Regions from separate parts of the Homo sapiens genome. Here region 1 is linked to region 2. Evidence: promoter capture Hi-C in 16 types of primary human blood cells and fetal thymus (Javierre and others, 2016). All regions are on one chromosome and are shown on one strand. The core of a region is centred on a gene start or on the middle of the fragment in contact, and the rest is flanking DNA. Distances in the headings are between cores, read along the strand shown. Region 1 holds the start of SNRK (SNF related kinase). Region 2 holds the start of CCDC13 (coiled-coil domain containing 13).

The links. The method cuts DNA at HindIII sites, captures the fragments that hold promoters and counts their contacts. A CHiCAGO score of 5 or more calls a contact.
Region 1: a contact is called between a fragment that was not itself captured here and the fragment with the promoter of CCDC13 in region 2, in 1 of 17 cell types (neutrophils). The highest score is 5.3, in neutrophils.

The regions. Positions count from the first base shown.
Region 1 is chr3:43,280,386-43,286,964 of GRCh38, forward strand. SNRK (SNF related kinase) reads left to right here and starts at 6,155. Exons shown (of 7, transcript NM_017719.5): 1 at 6,155-6,290. RefSeq lists an enhancer at 5,895-6,395 and a silencer at 6,000-6,399. The HindIII fragment of the contact is 4,142 bases long and covers 1-4,115 here.
Region 2 is chr3:42,771,713-42,778,057 of GRCh38, forward strand. It overlaps CCDC13 (coiled-coil domain containing 13), which reads right to left and starts at 1,541. Exons shown (of 16, transcript NM_144719.4): 1 at 1,464-1,541. CCDC13-AS2 (CCDC13 antisense RNA 2) reads left to right here. Exons shown (of 2, transcript NR_122070.1): 2 at 1,493-1,923. RefSeq lists a silencer at 1,262-1,421 and an enhancer at 1,552-1,721. The HindIII fragment of the contact is 4,325 bases long and covers 1-3,246 here.

The sequences.
Region 1 (6,579 bases), core at 795-3,294, 510 kb after region 2:
AGAGCTGCTACAACATATAATTTTAAATGTCCAGTTTTTAATAAAAAATACGAGACATGGAAAGAAACAGGAAAATGGGACTCAAGATGAGGGGGAAAAAGCAACTATTAGAAACTGACTGGCCAGGCACGGTAGCTCATGCCTGTAATCCAAACACTTTGGGAGGCCAAGGCAGGTGGATCACCTGAGGTCAAGACCAGCCTGGCTAACGTGGTGAAATCCCGACTCTACTAAAAATACAAAATATTAGCTGGGCGTGGTGGCAAGCGCCTGTAATCCCAGCTACTCAGGAGGCCTAGGCAGGAGAATCGCTGGAACCTGGGAGACAGAGTTGCAGTGAGCCGAGATTGTGCCATTGCACTGCAGCCTGGGCAAGAAGAGTGAAATTCTGTCTCAAAAAAAAAAAGAGAAAAGAAACTGACTATACATATCATATTCATGAATTGAAAGACTCATTATTGTTAAGATGATAATTCTCCCCAGATTGATCTATTCATATAACATAATCTTCATCAAAATTTCAAAAAGTCAACAATTTTTTTTGTGGAAATTGACAAGCTGACCCTATAGTTTACACGGAAATGCAACGTGCCTAGAATAGTAAAACAATCTTGAAACAGAACACTATAGATGGAAGACTTACTCTACTCGTTTTCAAAACTTACTATATAACAATAGTAGTCAAGACTGGATCATAATGGTGTAAGAATAGCCATATAGATCAACAAAAATGAATAGAAAATCCTTACATTAAGTTGATTGCCAACAAATTGCCAAGGCAATTTAATTGGGAAAGGATACCGTTTTCAACAAATGATTCTGGGATGATTAAATATCCATAAGCAAAAATCAAATGAAAAAAAAAGCCCCATAGCCTCTAAACCTCTCATCATGAGTAAAAATAAATTCAAAATGGATCATAGACTTAAAGGCCAAACTTAAAACTATAAAACTTGAAAAGACCAGAGAAGAAAATCTTTGTGACCTTTGCTTAAGCAAAATTCTTAGATATGACACCAAACCAAGGATCATGAAAGAAAAATTGGACAAATTGGAATTCACCAAAATTCAGAACTTTATAACTTCTAAACACATCATTTTAAAAATGAAAAGACAGGCCACAGCCTGGGAGAAAATATTTGCAAATCACATTTCTAATTAAGGACTTATATCCAAAAAGCATAAAAAATTCTTACAACACAATAAGACAAACAACACAATTAAAAATGGGCAAAAGATTTGAAAAGCCCTTTTATCAAAGAAGATATATGAATGACCAAAAATCACATGGAAAGCTAAGGAACATCATTAGTCATTAGGGAAATGCAAATGAAAATCATGAGATACCACTATATATGTATTAGAATGGTAATAATCTAAAAGTCTAACAGTGCCAAGTGTTGGCAGGGATGTGGAAAAACTAGAACCCTCATACACTGTTGGTGGTAATGTAAAGTGGTACAGTCATTTCAGAAATAATTTGTCAGTTTCTTAAAATGTTAAGCATAGAGTTATTGCATGACCCCAAAATTCCACTCAGCAATGTACCCAAGAGAAACGAAAATATGTCCCCACTAAGAGTTTAAACAGTCATAGCAACAGTATCCATAATAGCAAAAATCTGGAAATAAATGAAATGTTTATCACTTGGATGGATAAAGAAAATCTAATATATCCATATAAAGGAATACTGTTCAGCAACAAAAAGGAATGAACTACTGATACATGCTAGATGGAAAAACATTATGCTACATGAAAGAAGTCAGACACAAAAGAGTACACATGGTATGATTCCATTTATATGACATTTCTAGAAAAACACAAATCTATAGAGACAGATAACAGATAGTATGTGTTGAGGGCTGAAAGCTGGAGTGGGATTGATTGCATGTGCACAGGAGAGACCTTTTGGGGTTGATAAAAAAATTTTTTTTTGAGATAGGGTCTCACTCTGTTGCCCAAGCTGGAGTGCAGGGGTGAGATTCCAGCTCACCGCAGCCTCGCCCTCCTGGGCTCAGGTGATCCTCCCACCTTAGCTTCCCAAGTAGCTGGGACCAAGGTGCATGCCCCCATGCCCAGCTAATGTTTTTCATTATTTTTGTGAAGACGGAGTCTCTCTGTGTTGCTCAGGTTGGTCTTGAATTCCTGGCCTGAAGTGATCCTCCCACCTCTGCCTCCCATAGTTTTGGGATTACAGGCGTGAGCCACCTCTCCCAAGCCAGATGAAAATATTTCAAAAGTGGATTGGGGCGATGGCTGCATAACTTTATAAATTTACTAAAAAACCATTGAATCGTCCACCTATTATTGGTGAATTTTATGGTATGCAGATTATATTCAATGAAACTGTTAAACAAAAGTATTAAATCTCCCAATTTAAAAATGTTCTCAACTAATTCAAATTCTTAAAGAACCTATGTGGGGAAAAACAATGCCACAAGTCTGTGGGTGAAAAGCCCTGGGACTGCCTATTTGCAACCTCAGTGCTAGGTGGCAGGAATAGAAATTTAAATAAAATACAATCCTTGTCCCCCCAGAGTTTAAGATCCAAAGGGAGAAAATGGAACAATAAAATTACAAAACTGTATGATACTATGAGTGGGAGGGTATGGGGGTCCCAGAGAACTCCTGGCTCTGACTGGAGTGGGACAGTTAGGAGTAGCACAGAGGATGTGACATGGGAGCTGGATTTTGATGGGTAAGTAGGAATTCAGGAAACTGCGGGTGTAGTAAGTGGAGAAAAGGAGTAGGTGACATTTCCAGACAGAAGGAACAGAATAGGCAAAGACTGGGAATTGTGAAAAGTCAATTCTCTTTGTGAGAACTGGGAAGGCTGGAGACAGGGTACACATGCAGAAAAGAAAGTGCAGGAGAGGAAGCCAGGGACCAGATCAGGAAGGGCTTGGTAGGCTGTATTGACGTTTTTAGATAAGGGATTTATCAGGATTTATTTGCTGAAAGAACAACATGGACATGCTTCTTTTGGCCTAAATTAGACTTTGCATATTTTGGCAAGATCATATTGCACACATTAAAAAATATTCATTAATATACTGCTTACTATATGCCAGCCTTTGTTCTAATACTTTATATAAACTCAATCTCATCAACTCTGGTTCTCAAACTCTAATCTGTCTCAGAATCACCTGCAAGTCTTAAAACAGAGAAATCAGAGTTTCTGATTCAGTAGGTCTGAGGTGGAACTGGAAAATCTGCATTTCAATCCAGTTCCCAGGAGAAGCTGATGCTGCTAGTCCAGGGAGCACACTTTGAGAACCACTGCTTTACATCAAACTTATAAGAAAGGTATTATTATCATCACTGTCTTTCTCATTTTACAGAAGAAACATATAGAAGGTTATGCAACTTTCCCAAAGCCATCTTGCTCTTAGCAGTAGAGATGGGGTTAAATGTCAATGTCTGTCCTATCTTCTAGTTCACTGGTTGCAAACAAGCAGAGTTAAGGACTGGCATTTCCAATTCTTGTTTGCAACTATCAGAAATATCTCTCTCTCACACACACACACACACACACACACACACACACACACACACAGGACCTTAACTGACATCTGAGATAAAAGAGTAGAAGATGTTAACTGATGCCCATAGGGTGGTGAAGGAGTCTTTGAGGAACTCTTTAGGTCATTCCAATTAAGTATTATTTTGATCCTACTGGGGTGAAGCCAGGATCTAGAAATGCACAAGTATAAATGTATGAAATAACTAGTTAAATATGTAAAAGGGAATGTTGTTAAATAAAATGTCACAACTCAAAATTGAACTGTGTATGAATATTCAATGTCTGTTGTTTTAAATACATTTATTTTAAAATTTGAAATAAATTACAAAAACTAACAATATCCAGAGAAGATAACCTTGTTACATATGCTGCTTTTGGGGTTCCAAAGATGAAAATGACAATTCTTTCATCAGTCTGCTCAATTTTCACATTTTGATCTAATTTGTGGCACCTCCCTGGTTTCCTTCCAATAAACAACATCTTCCTTAAACTGGTGGCATTATGTTATTTTTGAGATCTGAATCACAGAGACTGTAATACAAGCAAGCATGCTTCATCTTGTCGTTTTGTAGAATGCTGTACATCTAATTAAAGCTTCTTACAGGTCCATAAAAAGACCCAACATTAAAAAAGCAGTGTGTTGGAGAAAGCCCCAGGGCAGAGTGGAAAAGGAGTTTCTTCATTAACTATAAGCACATTTGCTTAAATTCCAACTTAAGTAATACTATTAATTTGTACTTGAATATCTTAAAATATTGCCGAAGCATAATCAAATCATGTCACCACATTTATGGTGTGGAACCAAAACTGGGTCATATTCTTGCCAGCAGCACTTCAGCTACCCAAGAAATACTGGGGATGAATAAATGATTTACCATGTGGCCAGTACTGCGTCCTTCTCTAGAAGAGTATTGCAGCCAACTTCATTTAAATCAATTTATTATTTTGCCCTTTTTCATTTGTTTTGCTCTTTTATGCCTTGTTTTCCTTAGAAAATTTATTCAAAACCTAGTTAAACAGCAGCAATATAAATACTTTATTTTTCAAGAGCTTATATATTATCGTCATTGTTCTGTAGTTACTGATATAACTCAGGGACTACAGACCCAGGGGTGGAGGCCTTCGACCACTGGAAATCCCTTGGGAGACCATTACAGTGGTATTTTCTCCCTTTAGTTGGCTACAGAGTTCCCTGAATAGTGATATCTCCCTGAGGAGAAAAGTGCATGGTCTTCCTGATTTCTAGCAACAAAAGGACAAATTCTACAAATCCAAGTTAGGAGCTCTTGCTTAATATGCTGCTACAGTTACGATTTCCATGTCAAAATGAGATGACTCTTTTATGGTCTTTTCAGGTCAGAGTGATCCCAGGTGGGACCCTAAGGCGCAGAGGCCTAATCTGAGGCTTTCCCTGGTGCTCTCCCACCACCTGATGCAAGGGTATTAGGGTAACTGGGAGTCCCCTTGATCAGAAAACCCTATGTTATTACCCTAAGAATCAAACTGTTTGCACCTCCCAACAATCCACTCCTGCTTCCCAATCATCTTCAGACATGCAAAGTTGATGCATAGAAGCTAAAAGGCTTTTGACATTTGCAGGTCAACAGAGATTTGCTAAAACCATCTAGATTTCTCTTCGCAGTCCAGTCAATTCAACCAAGCCTGCAGCATCTCCGCAGCTCTTCTGGCTTGTGTCCTTCCTTGCTAGGGGTCCTTTCTTGGGGAAGGGTGGACACAACGTGGGAACAGAAGGGGAAAAGCAGGTTGAAGAAATCTGGCGTCTGGTTTGTTGGTGTTCCCTTCCAGGAACCCTGAAGAGCTGGTCTCTATTGCATGCCATGCTTCCAGGGGTGGGAGTCGGGAGTCCCCTCCCACCCTCTGCGGCCATCCCTAAGCTCCCTTCCAGAGCAACCTGGCCTGGCGACCATACCACTGAACCATCAAGGGCTATGGTTAATGCCCGGCGTGTTTTGAATCTCTGACTTCACGTGCTTTGATGTGTCCCCACGACCGTTTACTTTTCTATGCTGTTGCCAGAGGCTGCCTAGCAGGGCCTGTGTCTCCCGCTGACCTTTAAGGCCAGCACTGCATTCAGATGTTGGGCTTTTCCAATTTTGCTTAAATAACAACAAAATCAACCGAATTTTTTCAAATTAGAGTCCCAGGGAGAAGAAACTACAGAGAAAAAAATCATATTATGTATATATATGTATATACATATGTGCATGTGTGTATGTATATGTATTTTTACAATTTTTTTATCCTTGTTTAAACCTGGGCGGGAACCAAAGAGTAAAGCGCGTGCGGCTCCCTGCCCCCTGCCGCCAAGACGCAGTCCTGTACAGACGCGGTCCCTTCCCTCCGATTTCCCCTGACAGCTCGCGCTACTTTTTCCCGGCCATTGTTCCGTGTCCCTGGTGCTTCCTCCTCCCCCGTCCTCCATCCTCCTTGGGCGCCTTGCCCGCTTTGTCCCGCCAGCCGCCTCAGCCCCGACTCGCCGGGGTCAGAAAGCCGCCAGGATGCCCTCCAGCAGCCCGCGCGCCGGCCGCAGGTGCGCGCCGCCCCGCCCTGCCCTTCCCGCGGCCCCGCCCCAGCGCTGACGTCACAGTGACGCGCAGCCCGCGCAGGCGCAGCTACCCGGCACCCCCTCCCCGCGGCCGGCAGCCCGCTCGGTATTATGATTAGCGCTGGGTGCGGGGTTTCGGCGGCCGGGAGGGAGTTGTCGGCGCCGCGGCCGCTGCGGACGGACGCTCGCCTGCCGGCTGAGGTAGGGGCGAGCGCGGAGCGCGGCGGGGCGCGGCGGCCGTAGGCAGGGGTGCGGGGCCGGCCTCCGCCGCCTCAGTAGCCTCCGCTGTTGCCGGGCTGGGCGCCCGGGCCGGGGCGCTCGCCGCAGGCGGAAAGTAAGTTGCGCTCTCGGCGCCGGCCGCAGCGCGCGGCCCGGGAGGACGCGGGGCCCGGGCTGCGGTGGCCCGGACCCCGCGGCGCGGCCTGGCGGCGGGGCGGCGGCGGGGCCCGGCGGGAGCCGTCACTGCGGCGGCGGCCGCGGTCGCCTGGAG
Region 2 (6,345 bases), core at 291-2,790:
CCACCGCACTCCAGCCTGGGTGACAAAGTGAGACCCTGTCTCAATACAGCAGCAGCAACAACAACAACAGATGAACTCTAATGTAAACTATGGACTTTAGTTAGTAATAACATACCAGTATAGTTGTATCAATGATAACAAATGTACCACACCAATGCAATGTGTAAGATGTTAACAACAGAGGAAATGGGAATACGGAATACATAAAGGAACTGTTTTTTGTTTAATGCTTCTAAAAATCTGCTTTAAGTCTATTTTCTTTTAAAAGTAAAGGCTAAGCCGGGCGTGGTGGCTCATGCGTGTAATCCCAAAACTTTGGGAGGCTGAGGTGGGTGGATCACCTGAGGTCAGGAGTTTGAGACCAGCCTGGCCAACATGGTGAAACCCCATCTCTACTAAAAATACCAAAATTAGCCAGGCATGGTGGCGGGCGCCTGTAATCCCAGCTACTCGAGCCCAAGGCAGGAGAATCGCTTGAACCTGGGAGGCAGAGGTTGCAATGAGCCAAGATCGCGCTACTGCACTCCAGCCTGGGCGATAGAGCGAGACTCCGTCAAAAAAAAAAAAAAAAAAAAAAAGTAATAATAAAAAAAATAAAGTAAAGGCTAGAGCTGCATGGAAAGAACTCTTGGCTCAGGTAGGACTTAGAGCCAGGGAGTAGGAAGAGTGGCATGCACTCTGGAGTCCTATGAGGAAGCAAGATCCCACAGGATATGGGACCATAGGTGACAGGGACCAGTGAGGAAGGATTGAGACCCCTTGCCCCATCGGCCTGCCACTTTTTTCATTGTTTTTCTCTTCCCCTCTCCTTCTCTTTCTTCTTTTCTTTTACTGTGTTCTTTTCGAGTATTCTCAACAACAGTCTAGGGGCCTGGAGGTGTGGGGAGGCCGCCCACGGATGCCTAGTTTGGCGCTCTGTGCACTGCTAGCATCTTCGTAGGGATGGGTTTGGGATGGGAGCGGGGTGATGCTCTGGTTCTCAGGGCTGGACTCCGGGCTTGGAGGGGAACTCCCTCTTGCGAGTCCCCAGTCCTGTGGGGGCTGGGCCTGGAAGGGGAACTGGGAGATGCGGAAGTGCACGCCGTCGGGTCGCATCTTTCAGTGCGGTGCGAGAGGGCCCAGTGGCAGAGGCCCAGCAAACAGCGCTTGTCAGGCGGACCTGAGTTCGAGTTCTGACTGTGCCATCTACGCTATGACTTTGGGGCAGGCGACCCACCCTCTGCGCCTCATTAACCCATGTACTGCATGGAAAATAAGCGTCTGCCTGGGTTAGAAGAGGGCTGTGTGTGAAGATTCAAAGGACGAAGGGGAAGAGTCCTCGCTGGGCGCCCAGCACGCGGTGAGCGCCCGGCCAGTGGCAGCGCGCTCGGGCTGGGGTTGCGCTCGGGCTCGGTTCCGCGCCCCCGGCAGCTGCGGGCTTTCCCAGCTCCGGCCCGGGCCCTTCCGCTCTCCCCGGCACTTACAGCGGTCTCTCTCCACTTCTCCCTTCTAGGACCGCGGCGGCTAGGTCACCTCCTCCGGACGCCGACACGCGCTGCCCTGGCAACCGTCACCAGGGAAACAAGCGACGTCACTTGCGCGTTTTCAACGCTACTCTACGGGGGCCGAGGGGGCGCCAAGAGTTCTGAAAGTGACAGAGGCGCTGATGGCGCGCTGGGCTGGATCCAAGCGAGCACGATCTCGAGTGCGCTGGAGATTTTAAATCTTCTGGAGTATATTTTTAAAAAAGTTTTGTGGACCAAACGTTCTGCACAGAGATGCCCATTCCGCTCTCCTGTTGGGGAGTTAAAAAGCGAACGATCTCACCATGAAATTTAAAGTAGCCATTCAGATATATTTGAAAAATGTAAAACAGTGTGGGGAAAGGCCATGTTATGATGGTGAGTGAAGGAAGCAGGACGCAATATAGCAATGCTAAATAAATAAAGTTGTGTTTATTTCAAACTAGGCACTAAAACAAGACCGAAATAGAAATATTAAAAGTGGTTATATTTGGGTGGTGGAATAGCAGTGCTGTGTTTTTATTTTTACACTTTAGAGAATTTTTAAAATAATGAACATCGTTTATTTTCATAAAGGAAAATACTTGTTTTTTTTTTTTTAAATGGCACCTTCCAATGTAAGACACTACTATATTTCAGGGCAATATGGGGGTGGGAGGCAAATTTCTAGGAAAGATGATTCAAGGGAGATTTCTTTCTATCTATCTATCTATCTAATCTATCTATCTATCTATGATAGAGTCTCGCTGTGTCGCCCAGGCTGGAGTGCAGTGGTGCGATCTCAGCTCATTGCAACCTCCATTTCCCAGGTTCAAGCGATTCTCCTGCCTCAGCCTCCTGAGTAGCTGGGATTACAGGCACCCGCCACCACACCTGGCTAATTTTTTTATTTTTAGTGGAGACGGGGTTTCACCATGTTGACCAGGCTGGTCTTGAACTCCTGACCTCAGGTGATCCGCCCACCTTGGCCTCCTAAAGTGCCGGGATTACAGGCGTGAGCCACAGCTCCTGCCCAAATATTTATCCAGGACTTCATAATTTGAAAACCTTGGCAGTTGTTTTTCTATTTTTTTTCCTCATAAGGTGAATGAATACCCATCCCATAGACATGCATACATAAGATACGGCACTAGACTGCCATCAGCACTGCAGGTATAAACCCGAAGTTTCCTGATAAAGGAAAAATGGATCTTTCCCGTTGGTCTCCAATTGCTGCCTGGTGAGCTGAGGGTGGGAGACGTATAATATACAGGTGGCAGCAAAGAGAGACAGGATAAAGAGTAGGATTCAGGTAGATGTGAGCCTCAAAGGATTAGGGTTTTTTTTAAATGGTGTGTGTAGTGGGGAGTATCATTCGTTTGCCTCATGACCACGATGGGACTATGTGGCATAGGAAAAGGAATAGCCAGGTCTACTTAGAGGGCTTCTGGAAAGCATGGATCCTAGCAGAAAGCCAGGTTTTCATTAAAATAAGAACATGCTGTGAGAAAATTAAGGATGCAAGAGAATTTCAGAACCGACATTCTAGAATGTATGTATTAGAAAGTTTGGGAAAGGGGTAACATTTGCTCCAGCAATCCAAGGATTATTTTTGACGAGGATATCATTTTTGCAGTAACCCATTTTTTAAAAAGCAGGGATGATTTTCCTCTAGGTTTGTTACTTTTCCACGGTCACCACTAAGGCTCTCATGCCATTTTTTTTTTCTGCCCAAAATTCTTTTGAGAATTTTCTTTAGTTTATAAGCTTGACATTTTATCATCCAAGAAGCTGGCGAATCCAATCTGGGTCACCAGTATTTCCTCATGTACAGTATACAGATGTTTGTTAATTCCAGCCCACTTTGTTTCTCTAGCCAGAAGTATCTGTAGGACACTGCCCTTTGTTTTTTGCTTTTTAATTTGAAATTATATTGAGATTTTTATAGAATCACATGCAGTTGTAAAAAATAATAGAGATCCCCTGTATACTTTTCCAGTTCTCCACAATGATATTTTGCAGAACTTTAGTATAATATTACAACCAGGATATTGACATCGATACAACCTACTCCTCTTAGATTTCTCCAATTTAACTGTACTTTTCTTTTGATTTATCACGTGTCAGTTTGTGTATCCATGACCATCAAGATATCAAATACTAGCCGGGCATGGTGACTCATGCACGCCTATAATCCCAGCATTTTGGGATGCTGAGGCAGGCAGATCACTTGAGGCCAGGAGTTCAAGACCAGCCTGGTCAACATGGCAAAATCCTATATCTACTAAAAATAACAAAAATTAGCCAGGCATAGTGGTGCTTGCCTGTAATCCCAGCTACTTGGGAGGCTGAGGCATGAGAATCGCTTGAACTCAGGAAGTGGAGGTTGCAGTGAGCTGAGATCGCGCCATTACACTCCAGCCTGGGCGACAAGAGTGAGACTCTGTCTCAAAAAAAAAAAAAGATACCAAATACTATCACAAGGATCTCTCTGTTGTGATTTTATGACTATGTACACTTCCCTCCCTCCTCCTGCCCTAGTCCCTAACCCTTTACAACCACCAGTCTGCCCTCCATTTCTAAAATTTTGTCATTTCAAAAATGTTATATAAATGAAATAACTCAGCATGTACACTTTTTAGGATGGATTTTTTTTTTTTTTTACTCAGAACAATTCCTTGGAGATTCATCCAAGTTGTTGTGTGTATCAATAATCCATTCCTTTTTATTGCTGAGTAGTTCTAGTATGAATGTACCAGTTTGTTTAACCATTTACCCACTGAAAGACATCTGGGTTGTTTCCAGTTAGGAGCAATTATGATTCAGCTGCTATAAACATTCATGTATAGGTTTTTGTGTGAACATAAGTTTTCATTCCTATGGAATAAATGCCCAAGAGTGCAATTGCTGTGTAGTATGGTAACTGCATATCTAGTTTTAGAAGAAATTGCCAAACCTGTTTTCCAGAGTGACTGTTCCACTTTACATTCTTACCAGAAATGTTTAAGTGACACAGTTTCTTCACATCCTTGCCAGCATTTGATGTCACTATTTTTATTTTAGTCATTTTAATAGGTGTGTAGTGATATCATTGTGGTTCTAATGTACGTGACGGATAATGATATTGAACATCTTTTTCATGTGCTTATTTGTCATCTGTATATTTTCTTTGGTGAAGTGTCTGTTCATGTCTTTTGCCCAATTTCTAACTGTCGAGTTTTGAGAATTCTTTATATATTCTATATACTAGTCCGTTGTTGGATACGTAGTTTGCAAATACTTTCTCCGAATCTGTAGTTCATCTTTTAATCCTCTTCACTTGGGCTTTCACAGAACAAAAGGCTTTGATTTTGACAAGGTCCAATTTATCAATTCCTTCTTTAATGGATTGTGCTTTTGATTTCAAGTCTAAGAAAGAACTCTTTGCCTAGCCCTGGGTCCCAAAGATTTCCCCCCATTTTTATAAAAGTGTTAGAGTTTTATGCCCATGATTTATTTTGATGTAATTTTTATATAAAGGTATGAAATTTAGATCAAGGTTCTTTTTTGCTTTTTTGCCTATGGTGTCCAGTTGTTCCAGCACCATTTGTTGGAAAGCTATGCTTCCTCCATTGAATTGCTTTTGCACCTTTGTCAAAAATCAGGTTAGCTATCTCAACAACAAAACCCAATTCAAAAATGGGCAAAGGACTTCAATAGACATTAATCCAAAGAAGATATACAAATGGCAAATAAGCACATGAAAACATGCCCAACATCACTAACCATTAGAGAAATGCAAACCAAAACCACGAGATACCATTTCACACCCATTAGGATGGATATTATCCAAAAAATGGAAAATAACAAGTGTTTGCCAGGATGTGAAGAATTTGGAACCCTTATGTAGAGCTAGTGGGAATGTAAAATGGTATATCCACTGTAGAAAACAGTTTGGTGGTTCCTCAAAAAGTTAAACATTGAATTACCGTATGATTTACAATTCCACTTCTAAATATATGCCCGAAAGATTTGAAAGAAGGGACTTGGCCAGACACAGTGTCTCATGCCTGTAATCCCAGCCCTTTGGGAGGCTGAGGTAGAGGACTGCTTGAGGCCAGGAACTCGAGACCAGCCTGGTCACCATAGCGAGACCTTGTCTCTACAAAAAAAGTAATAATAAAAAATAAAGAAGGGACTCAAACAGGTAATTGTATGCCAGTGTTCATAGCAGCATTATTCACGATAGCCAGAAGGTAGAAACAACCCAAGCAACCTTCAACAGATGAATGAGTAAACAAAAGGTGGTATATATACTCCACAGAATATTCAGCCTTAGAAAAGAATGAAATTCTGAATTCTGGATGAACCTTGAAAACATTATGCTAAGTGAAATAAGCCAGACACAAAATGGCAAATATTGTACGATTCCATGTATATTAGGTACCTAGAATGAACAAATTCATAGAGACAGAAAGTAGAATAGAGGATGCTAGGGAGTGGAAGAACGGGGCAAGTAGAGAGGTTTGGGGGTTTTTGTTTGTTTTTGAGACAGGGTCTCGCTCTATCGCCCAGGCTGGAATGCAGTCGTGCAATGACAGCTCACTACAGCCTCAACCACCTGGGCTCAGGTTATCTTCCCACCTTAGCATCCCAAGTAGTTGGGACCACAGGCTCGCACCACCACACCGAGCTAATTTTTGTATTTTTTGTAGAGATGGTGTTTCGCCATGTTGCCCAGGTTGATCTCGAACTCCTGGGCTCAAGCGATCTGCCTTGACCTCCCAAAGTGCTAGGATTATAGGTGTGAGCCACCACATCCAACCAGAAGTTATTCTTAAAGGGCATGGAGTTTCTGTTTGGGCTGATGAAAAGACTTTAGAGG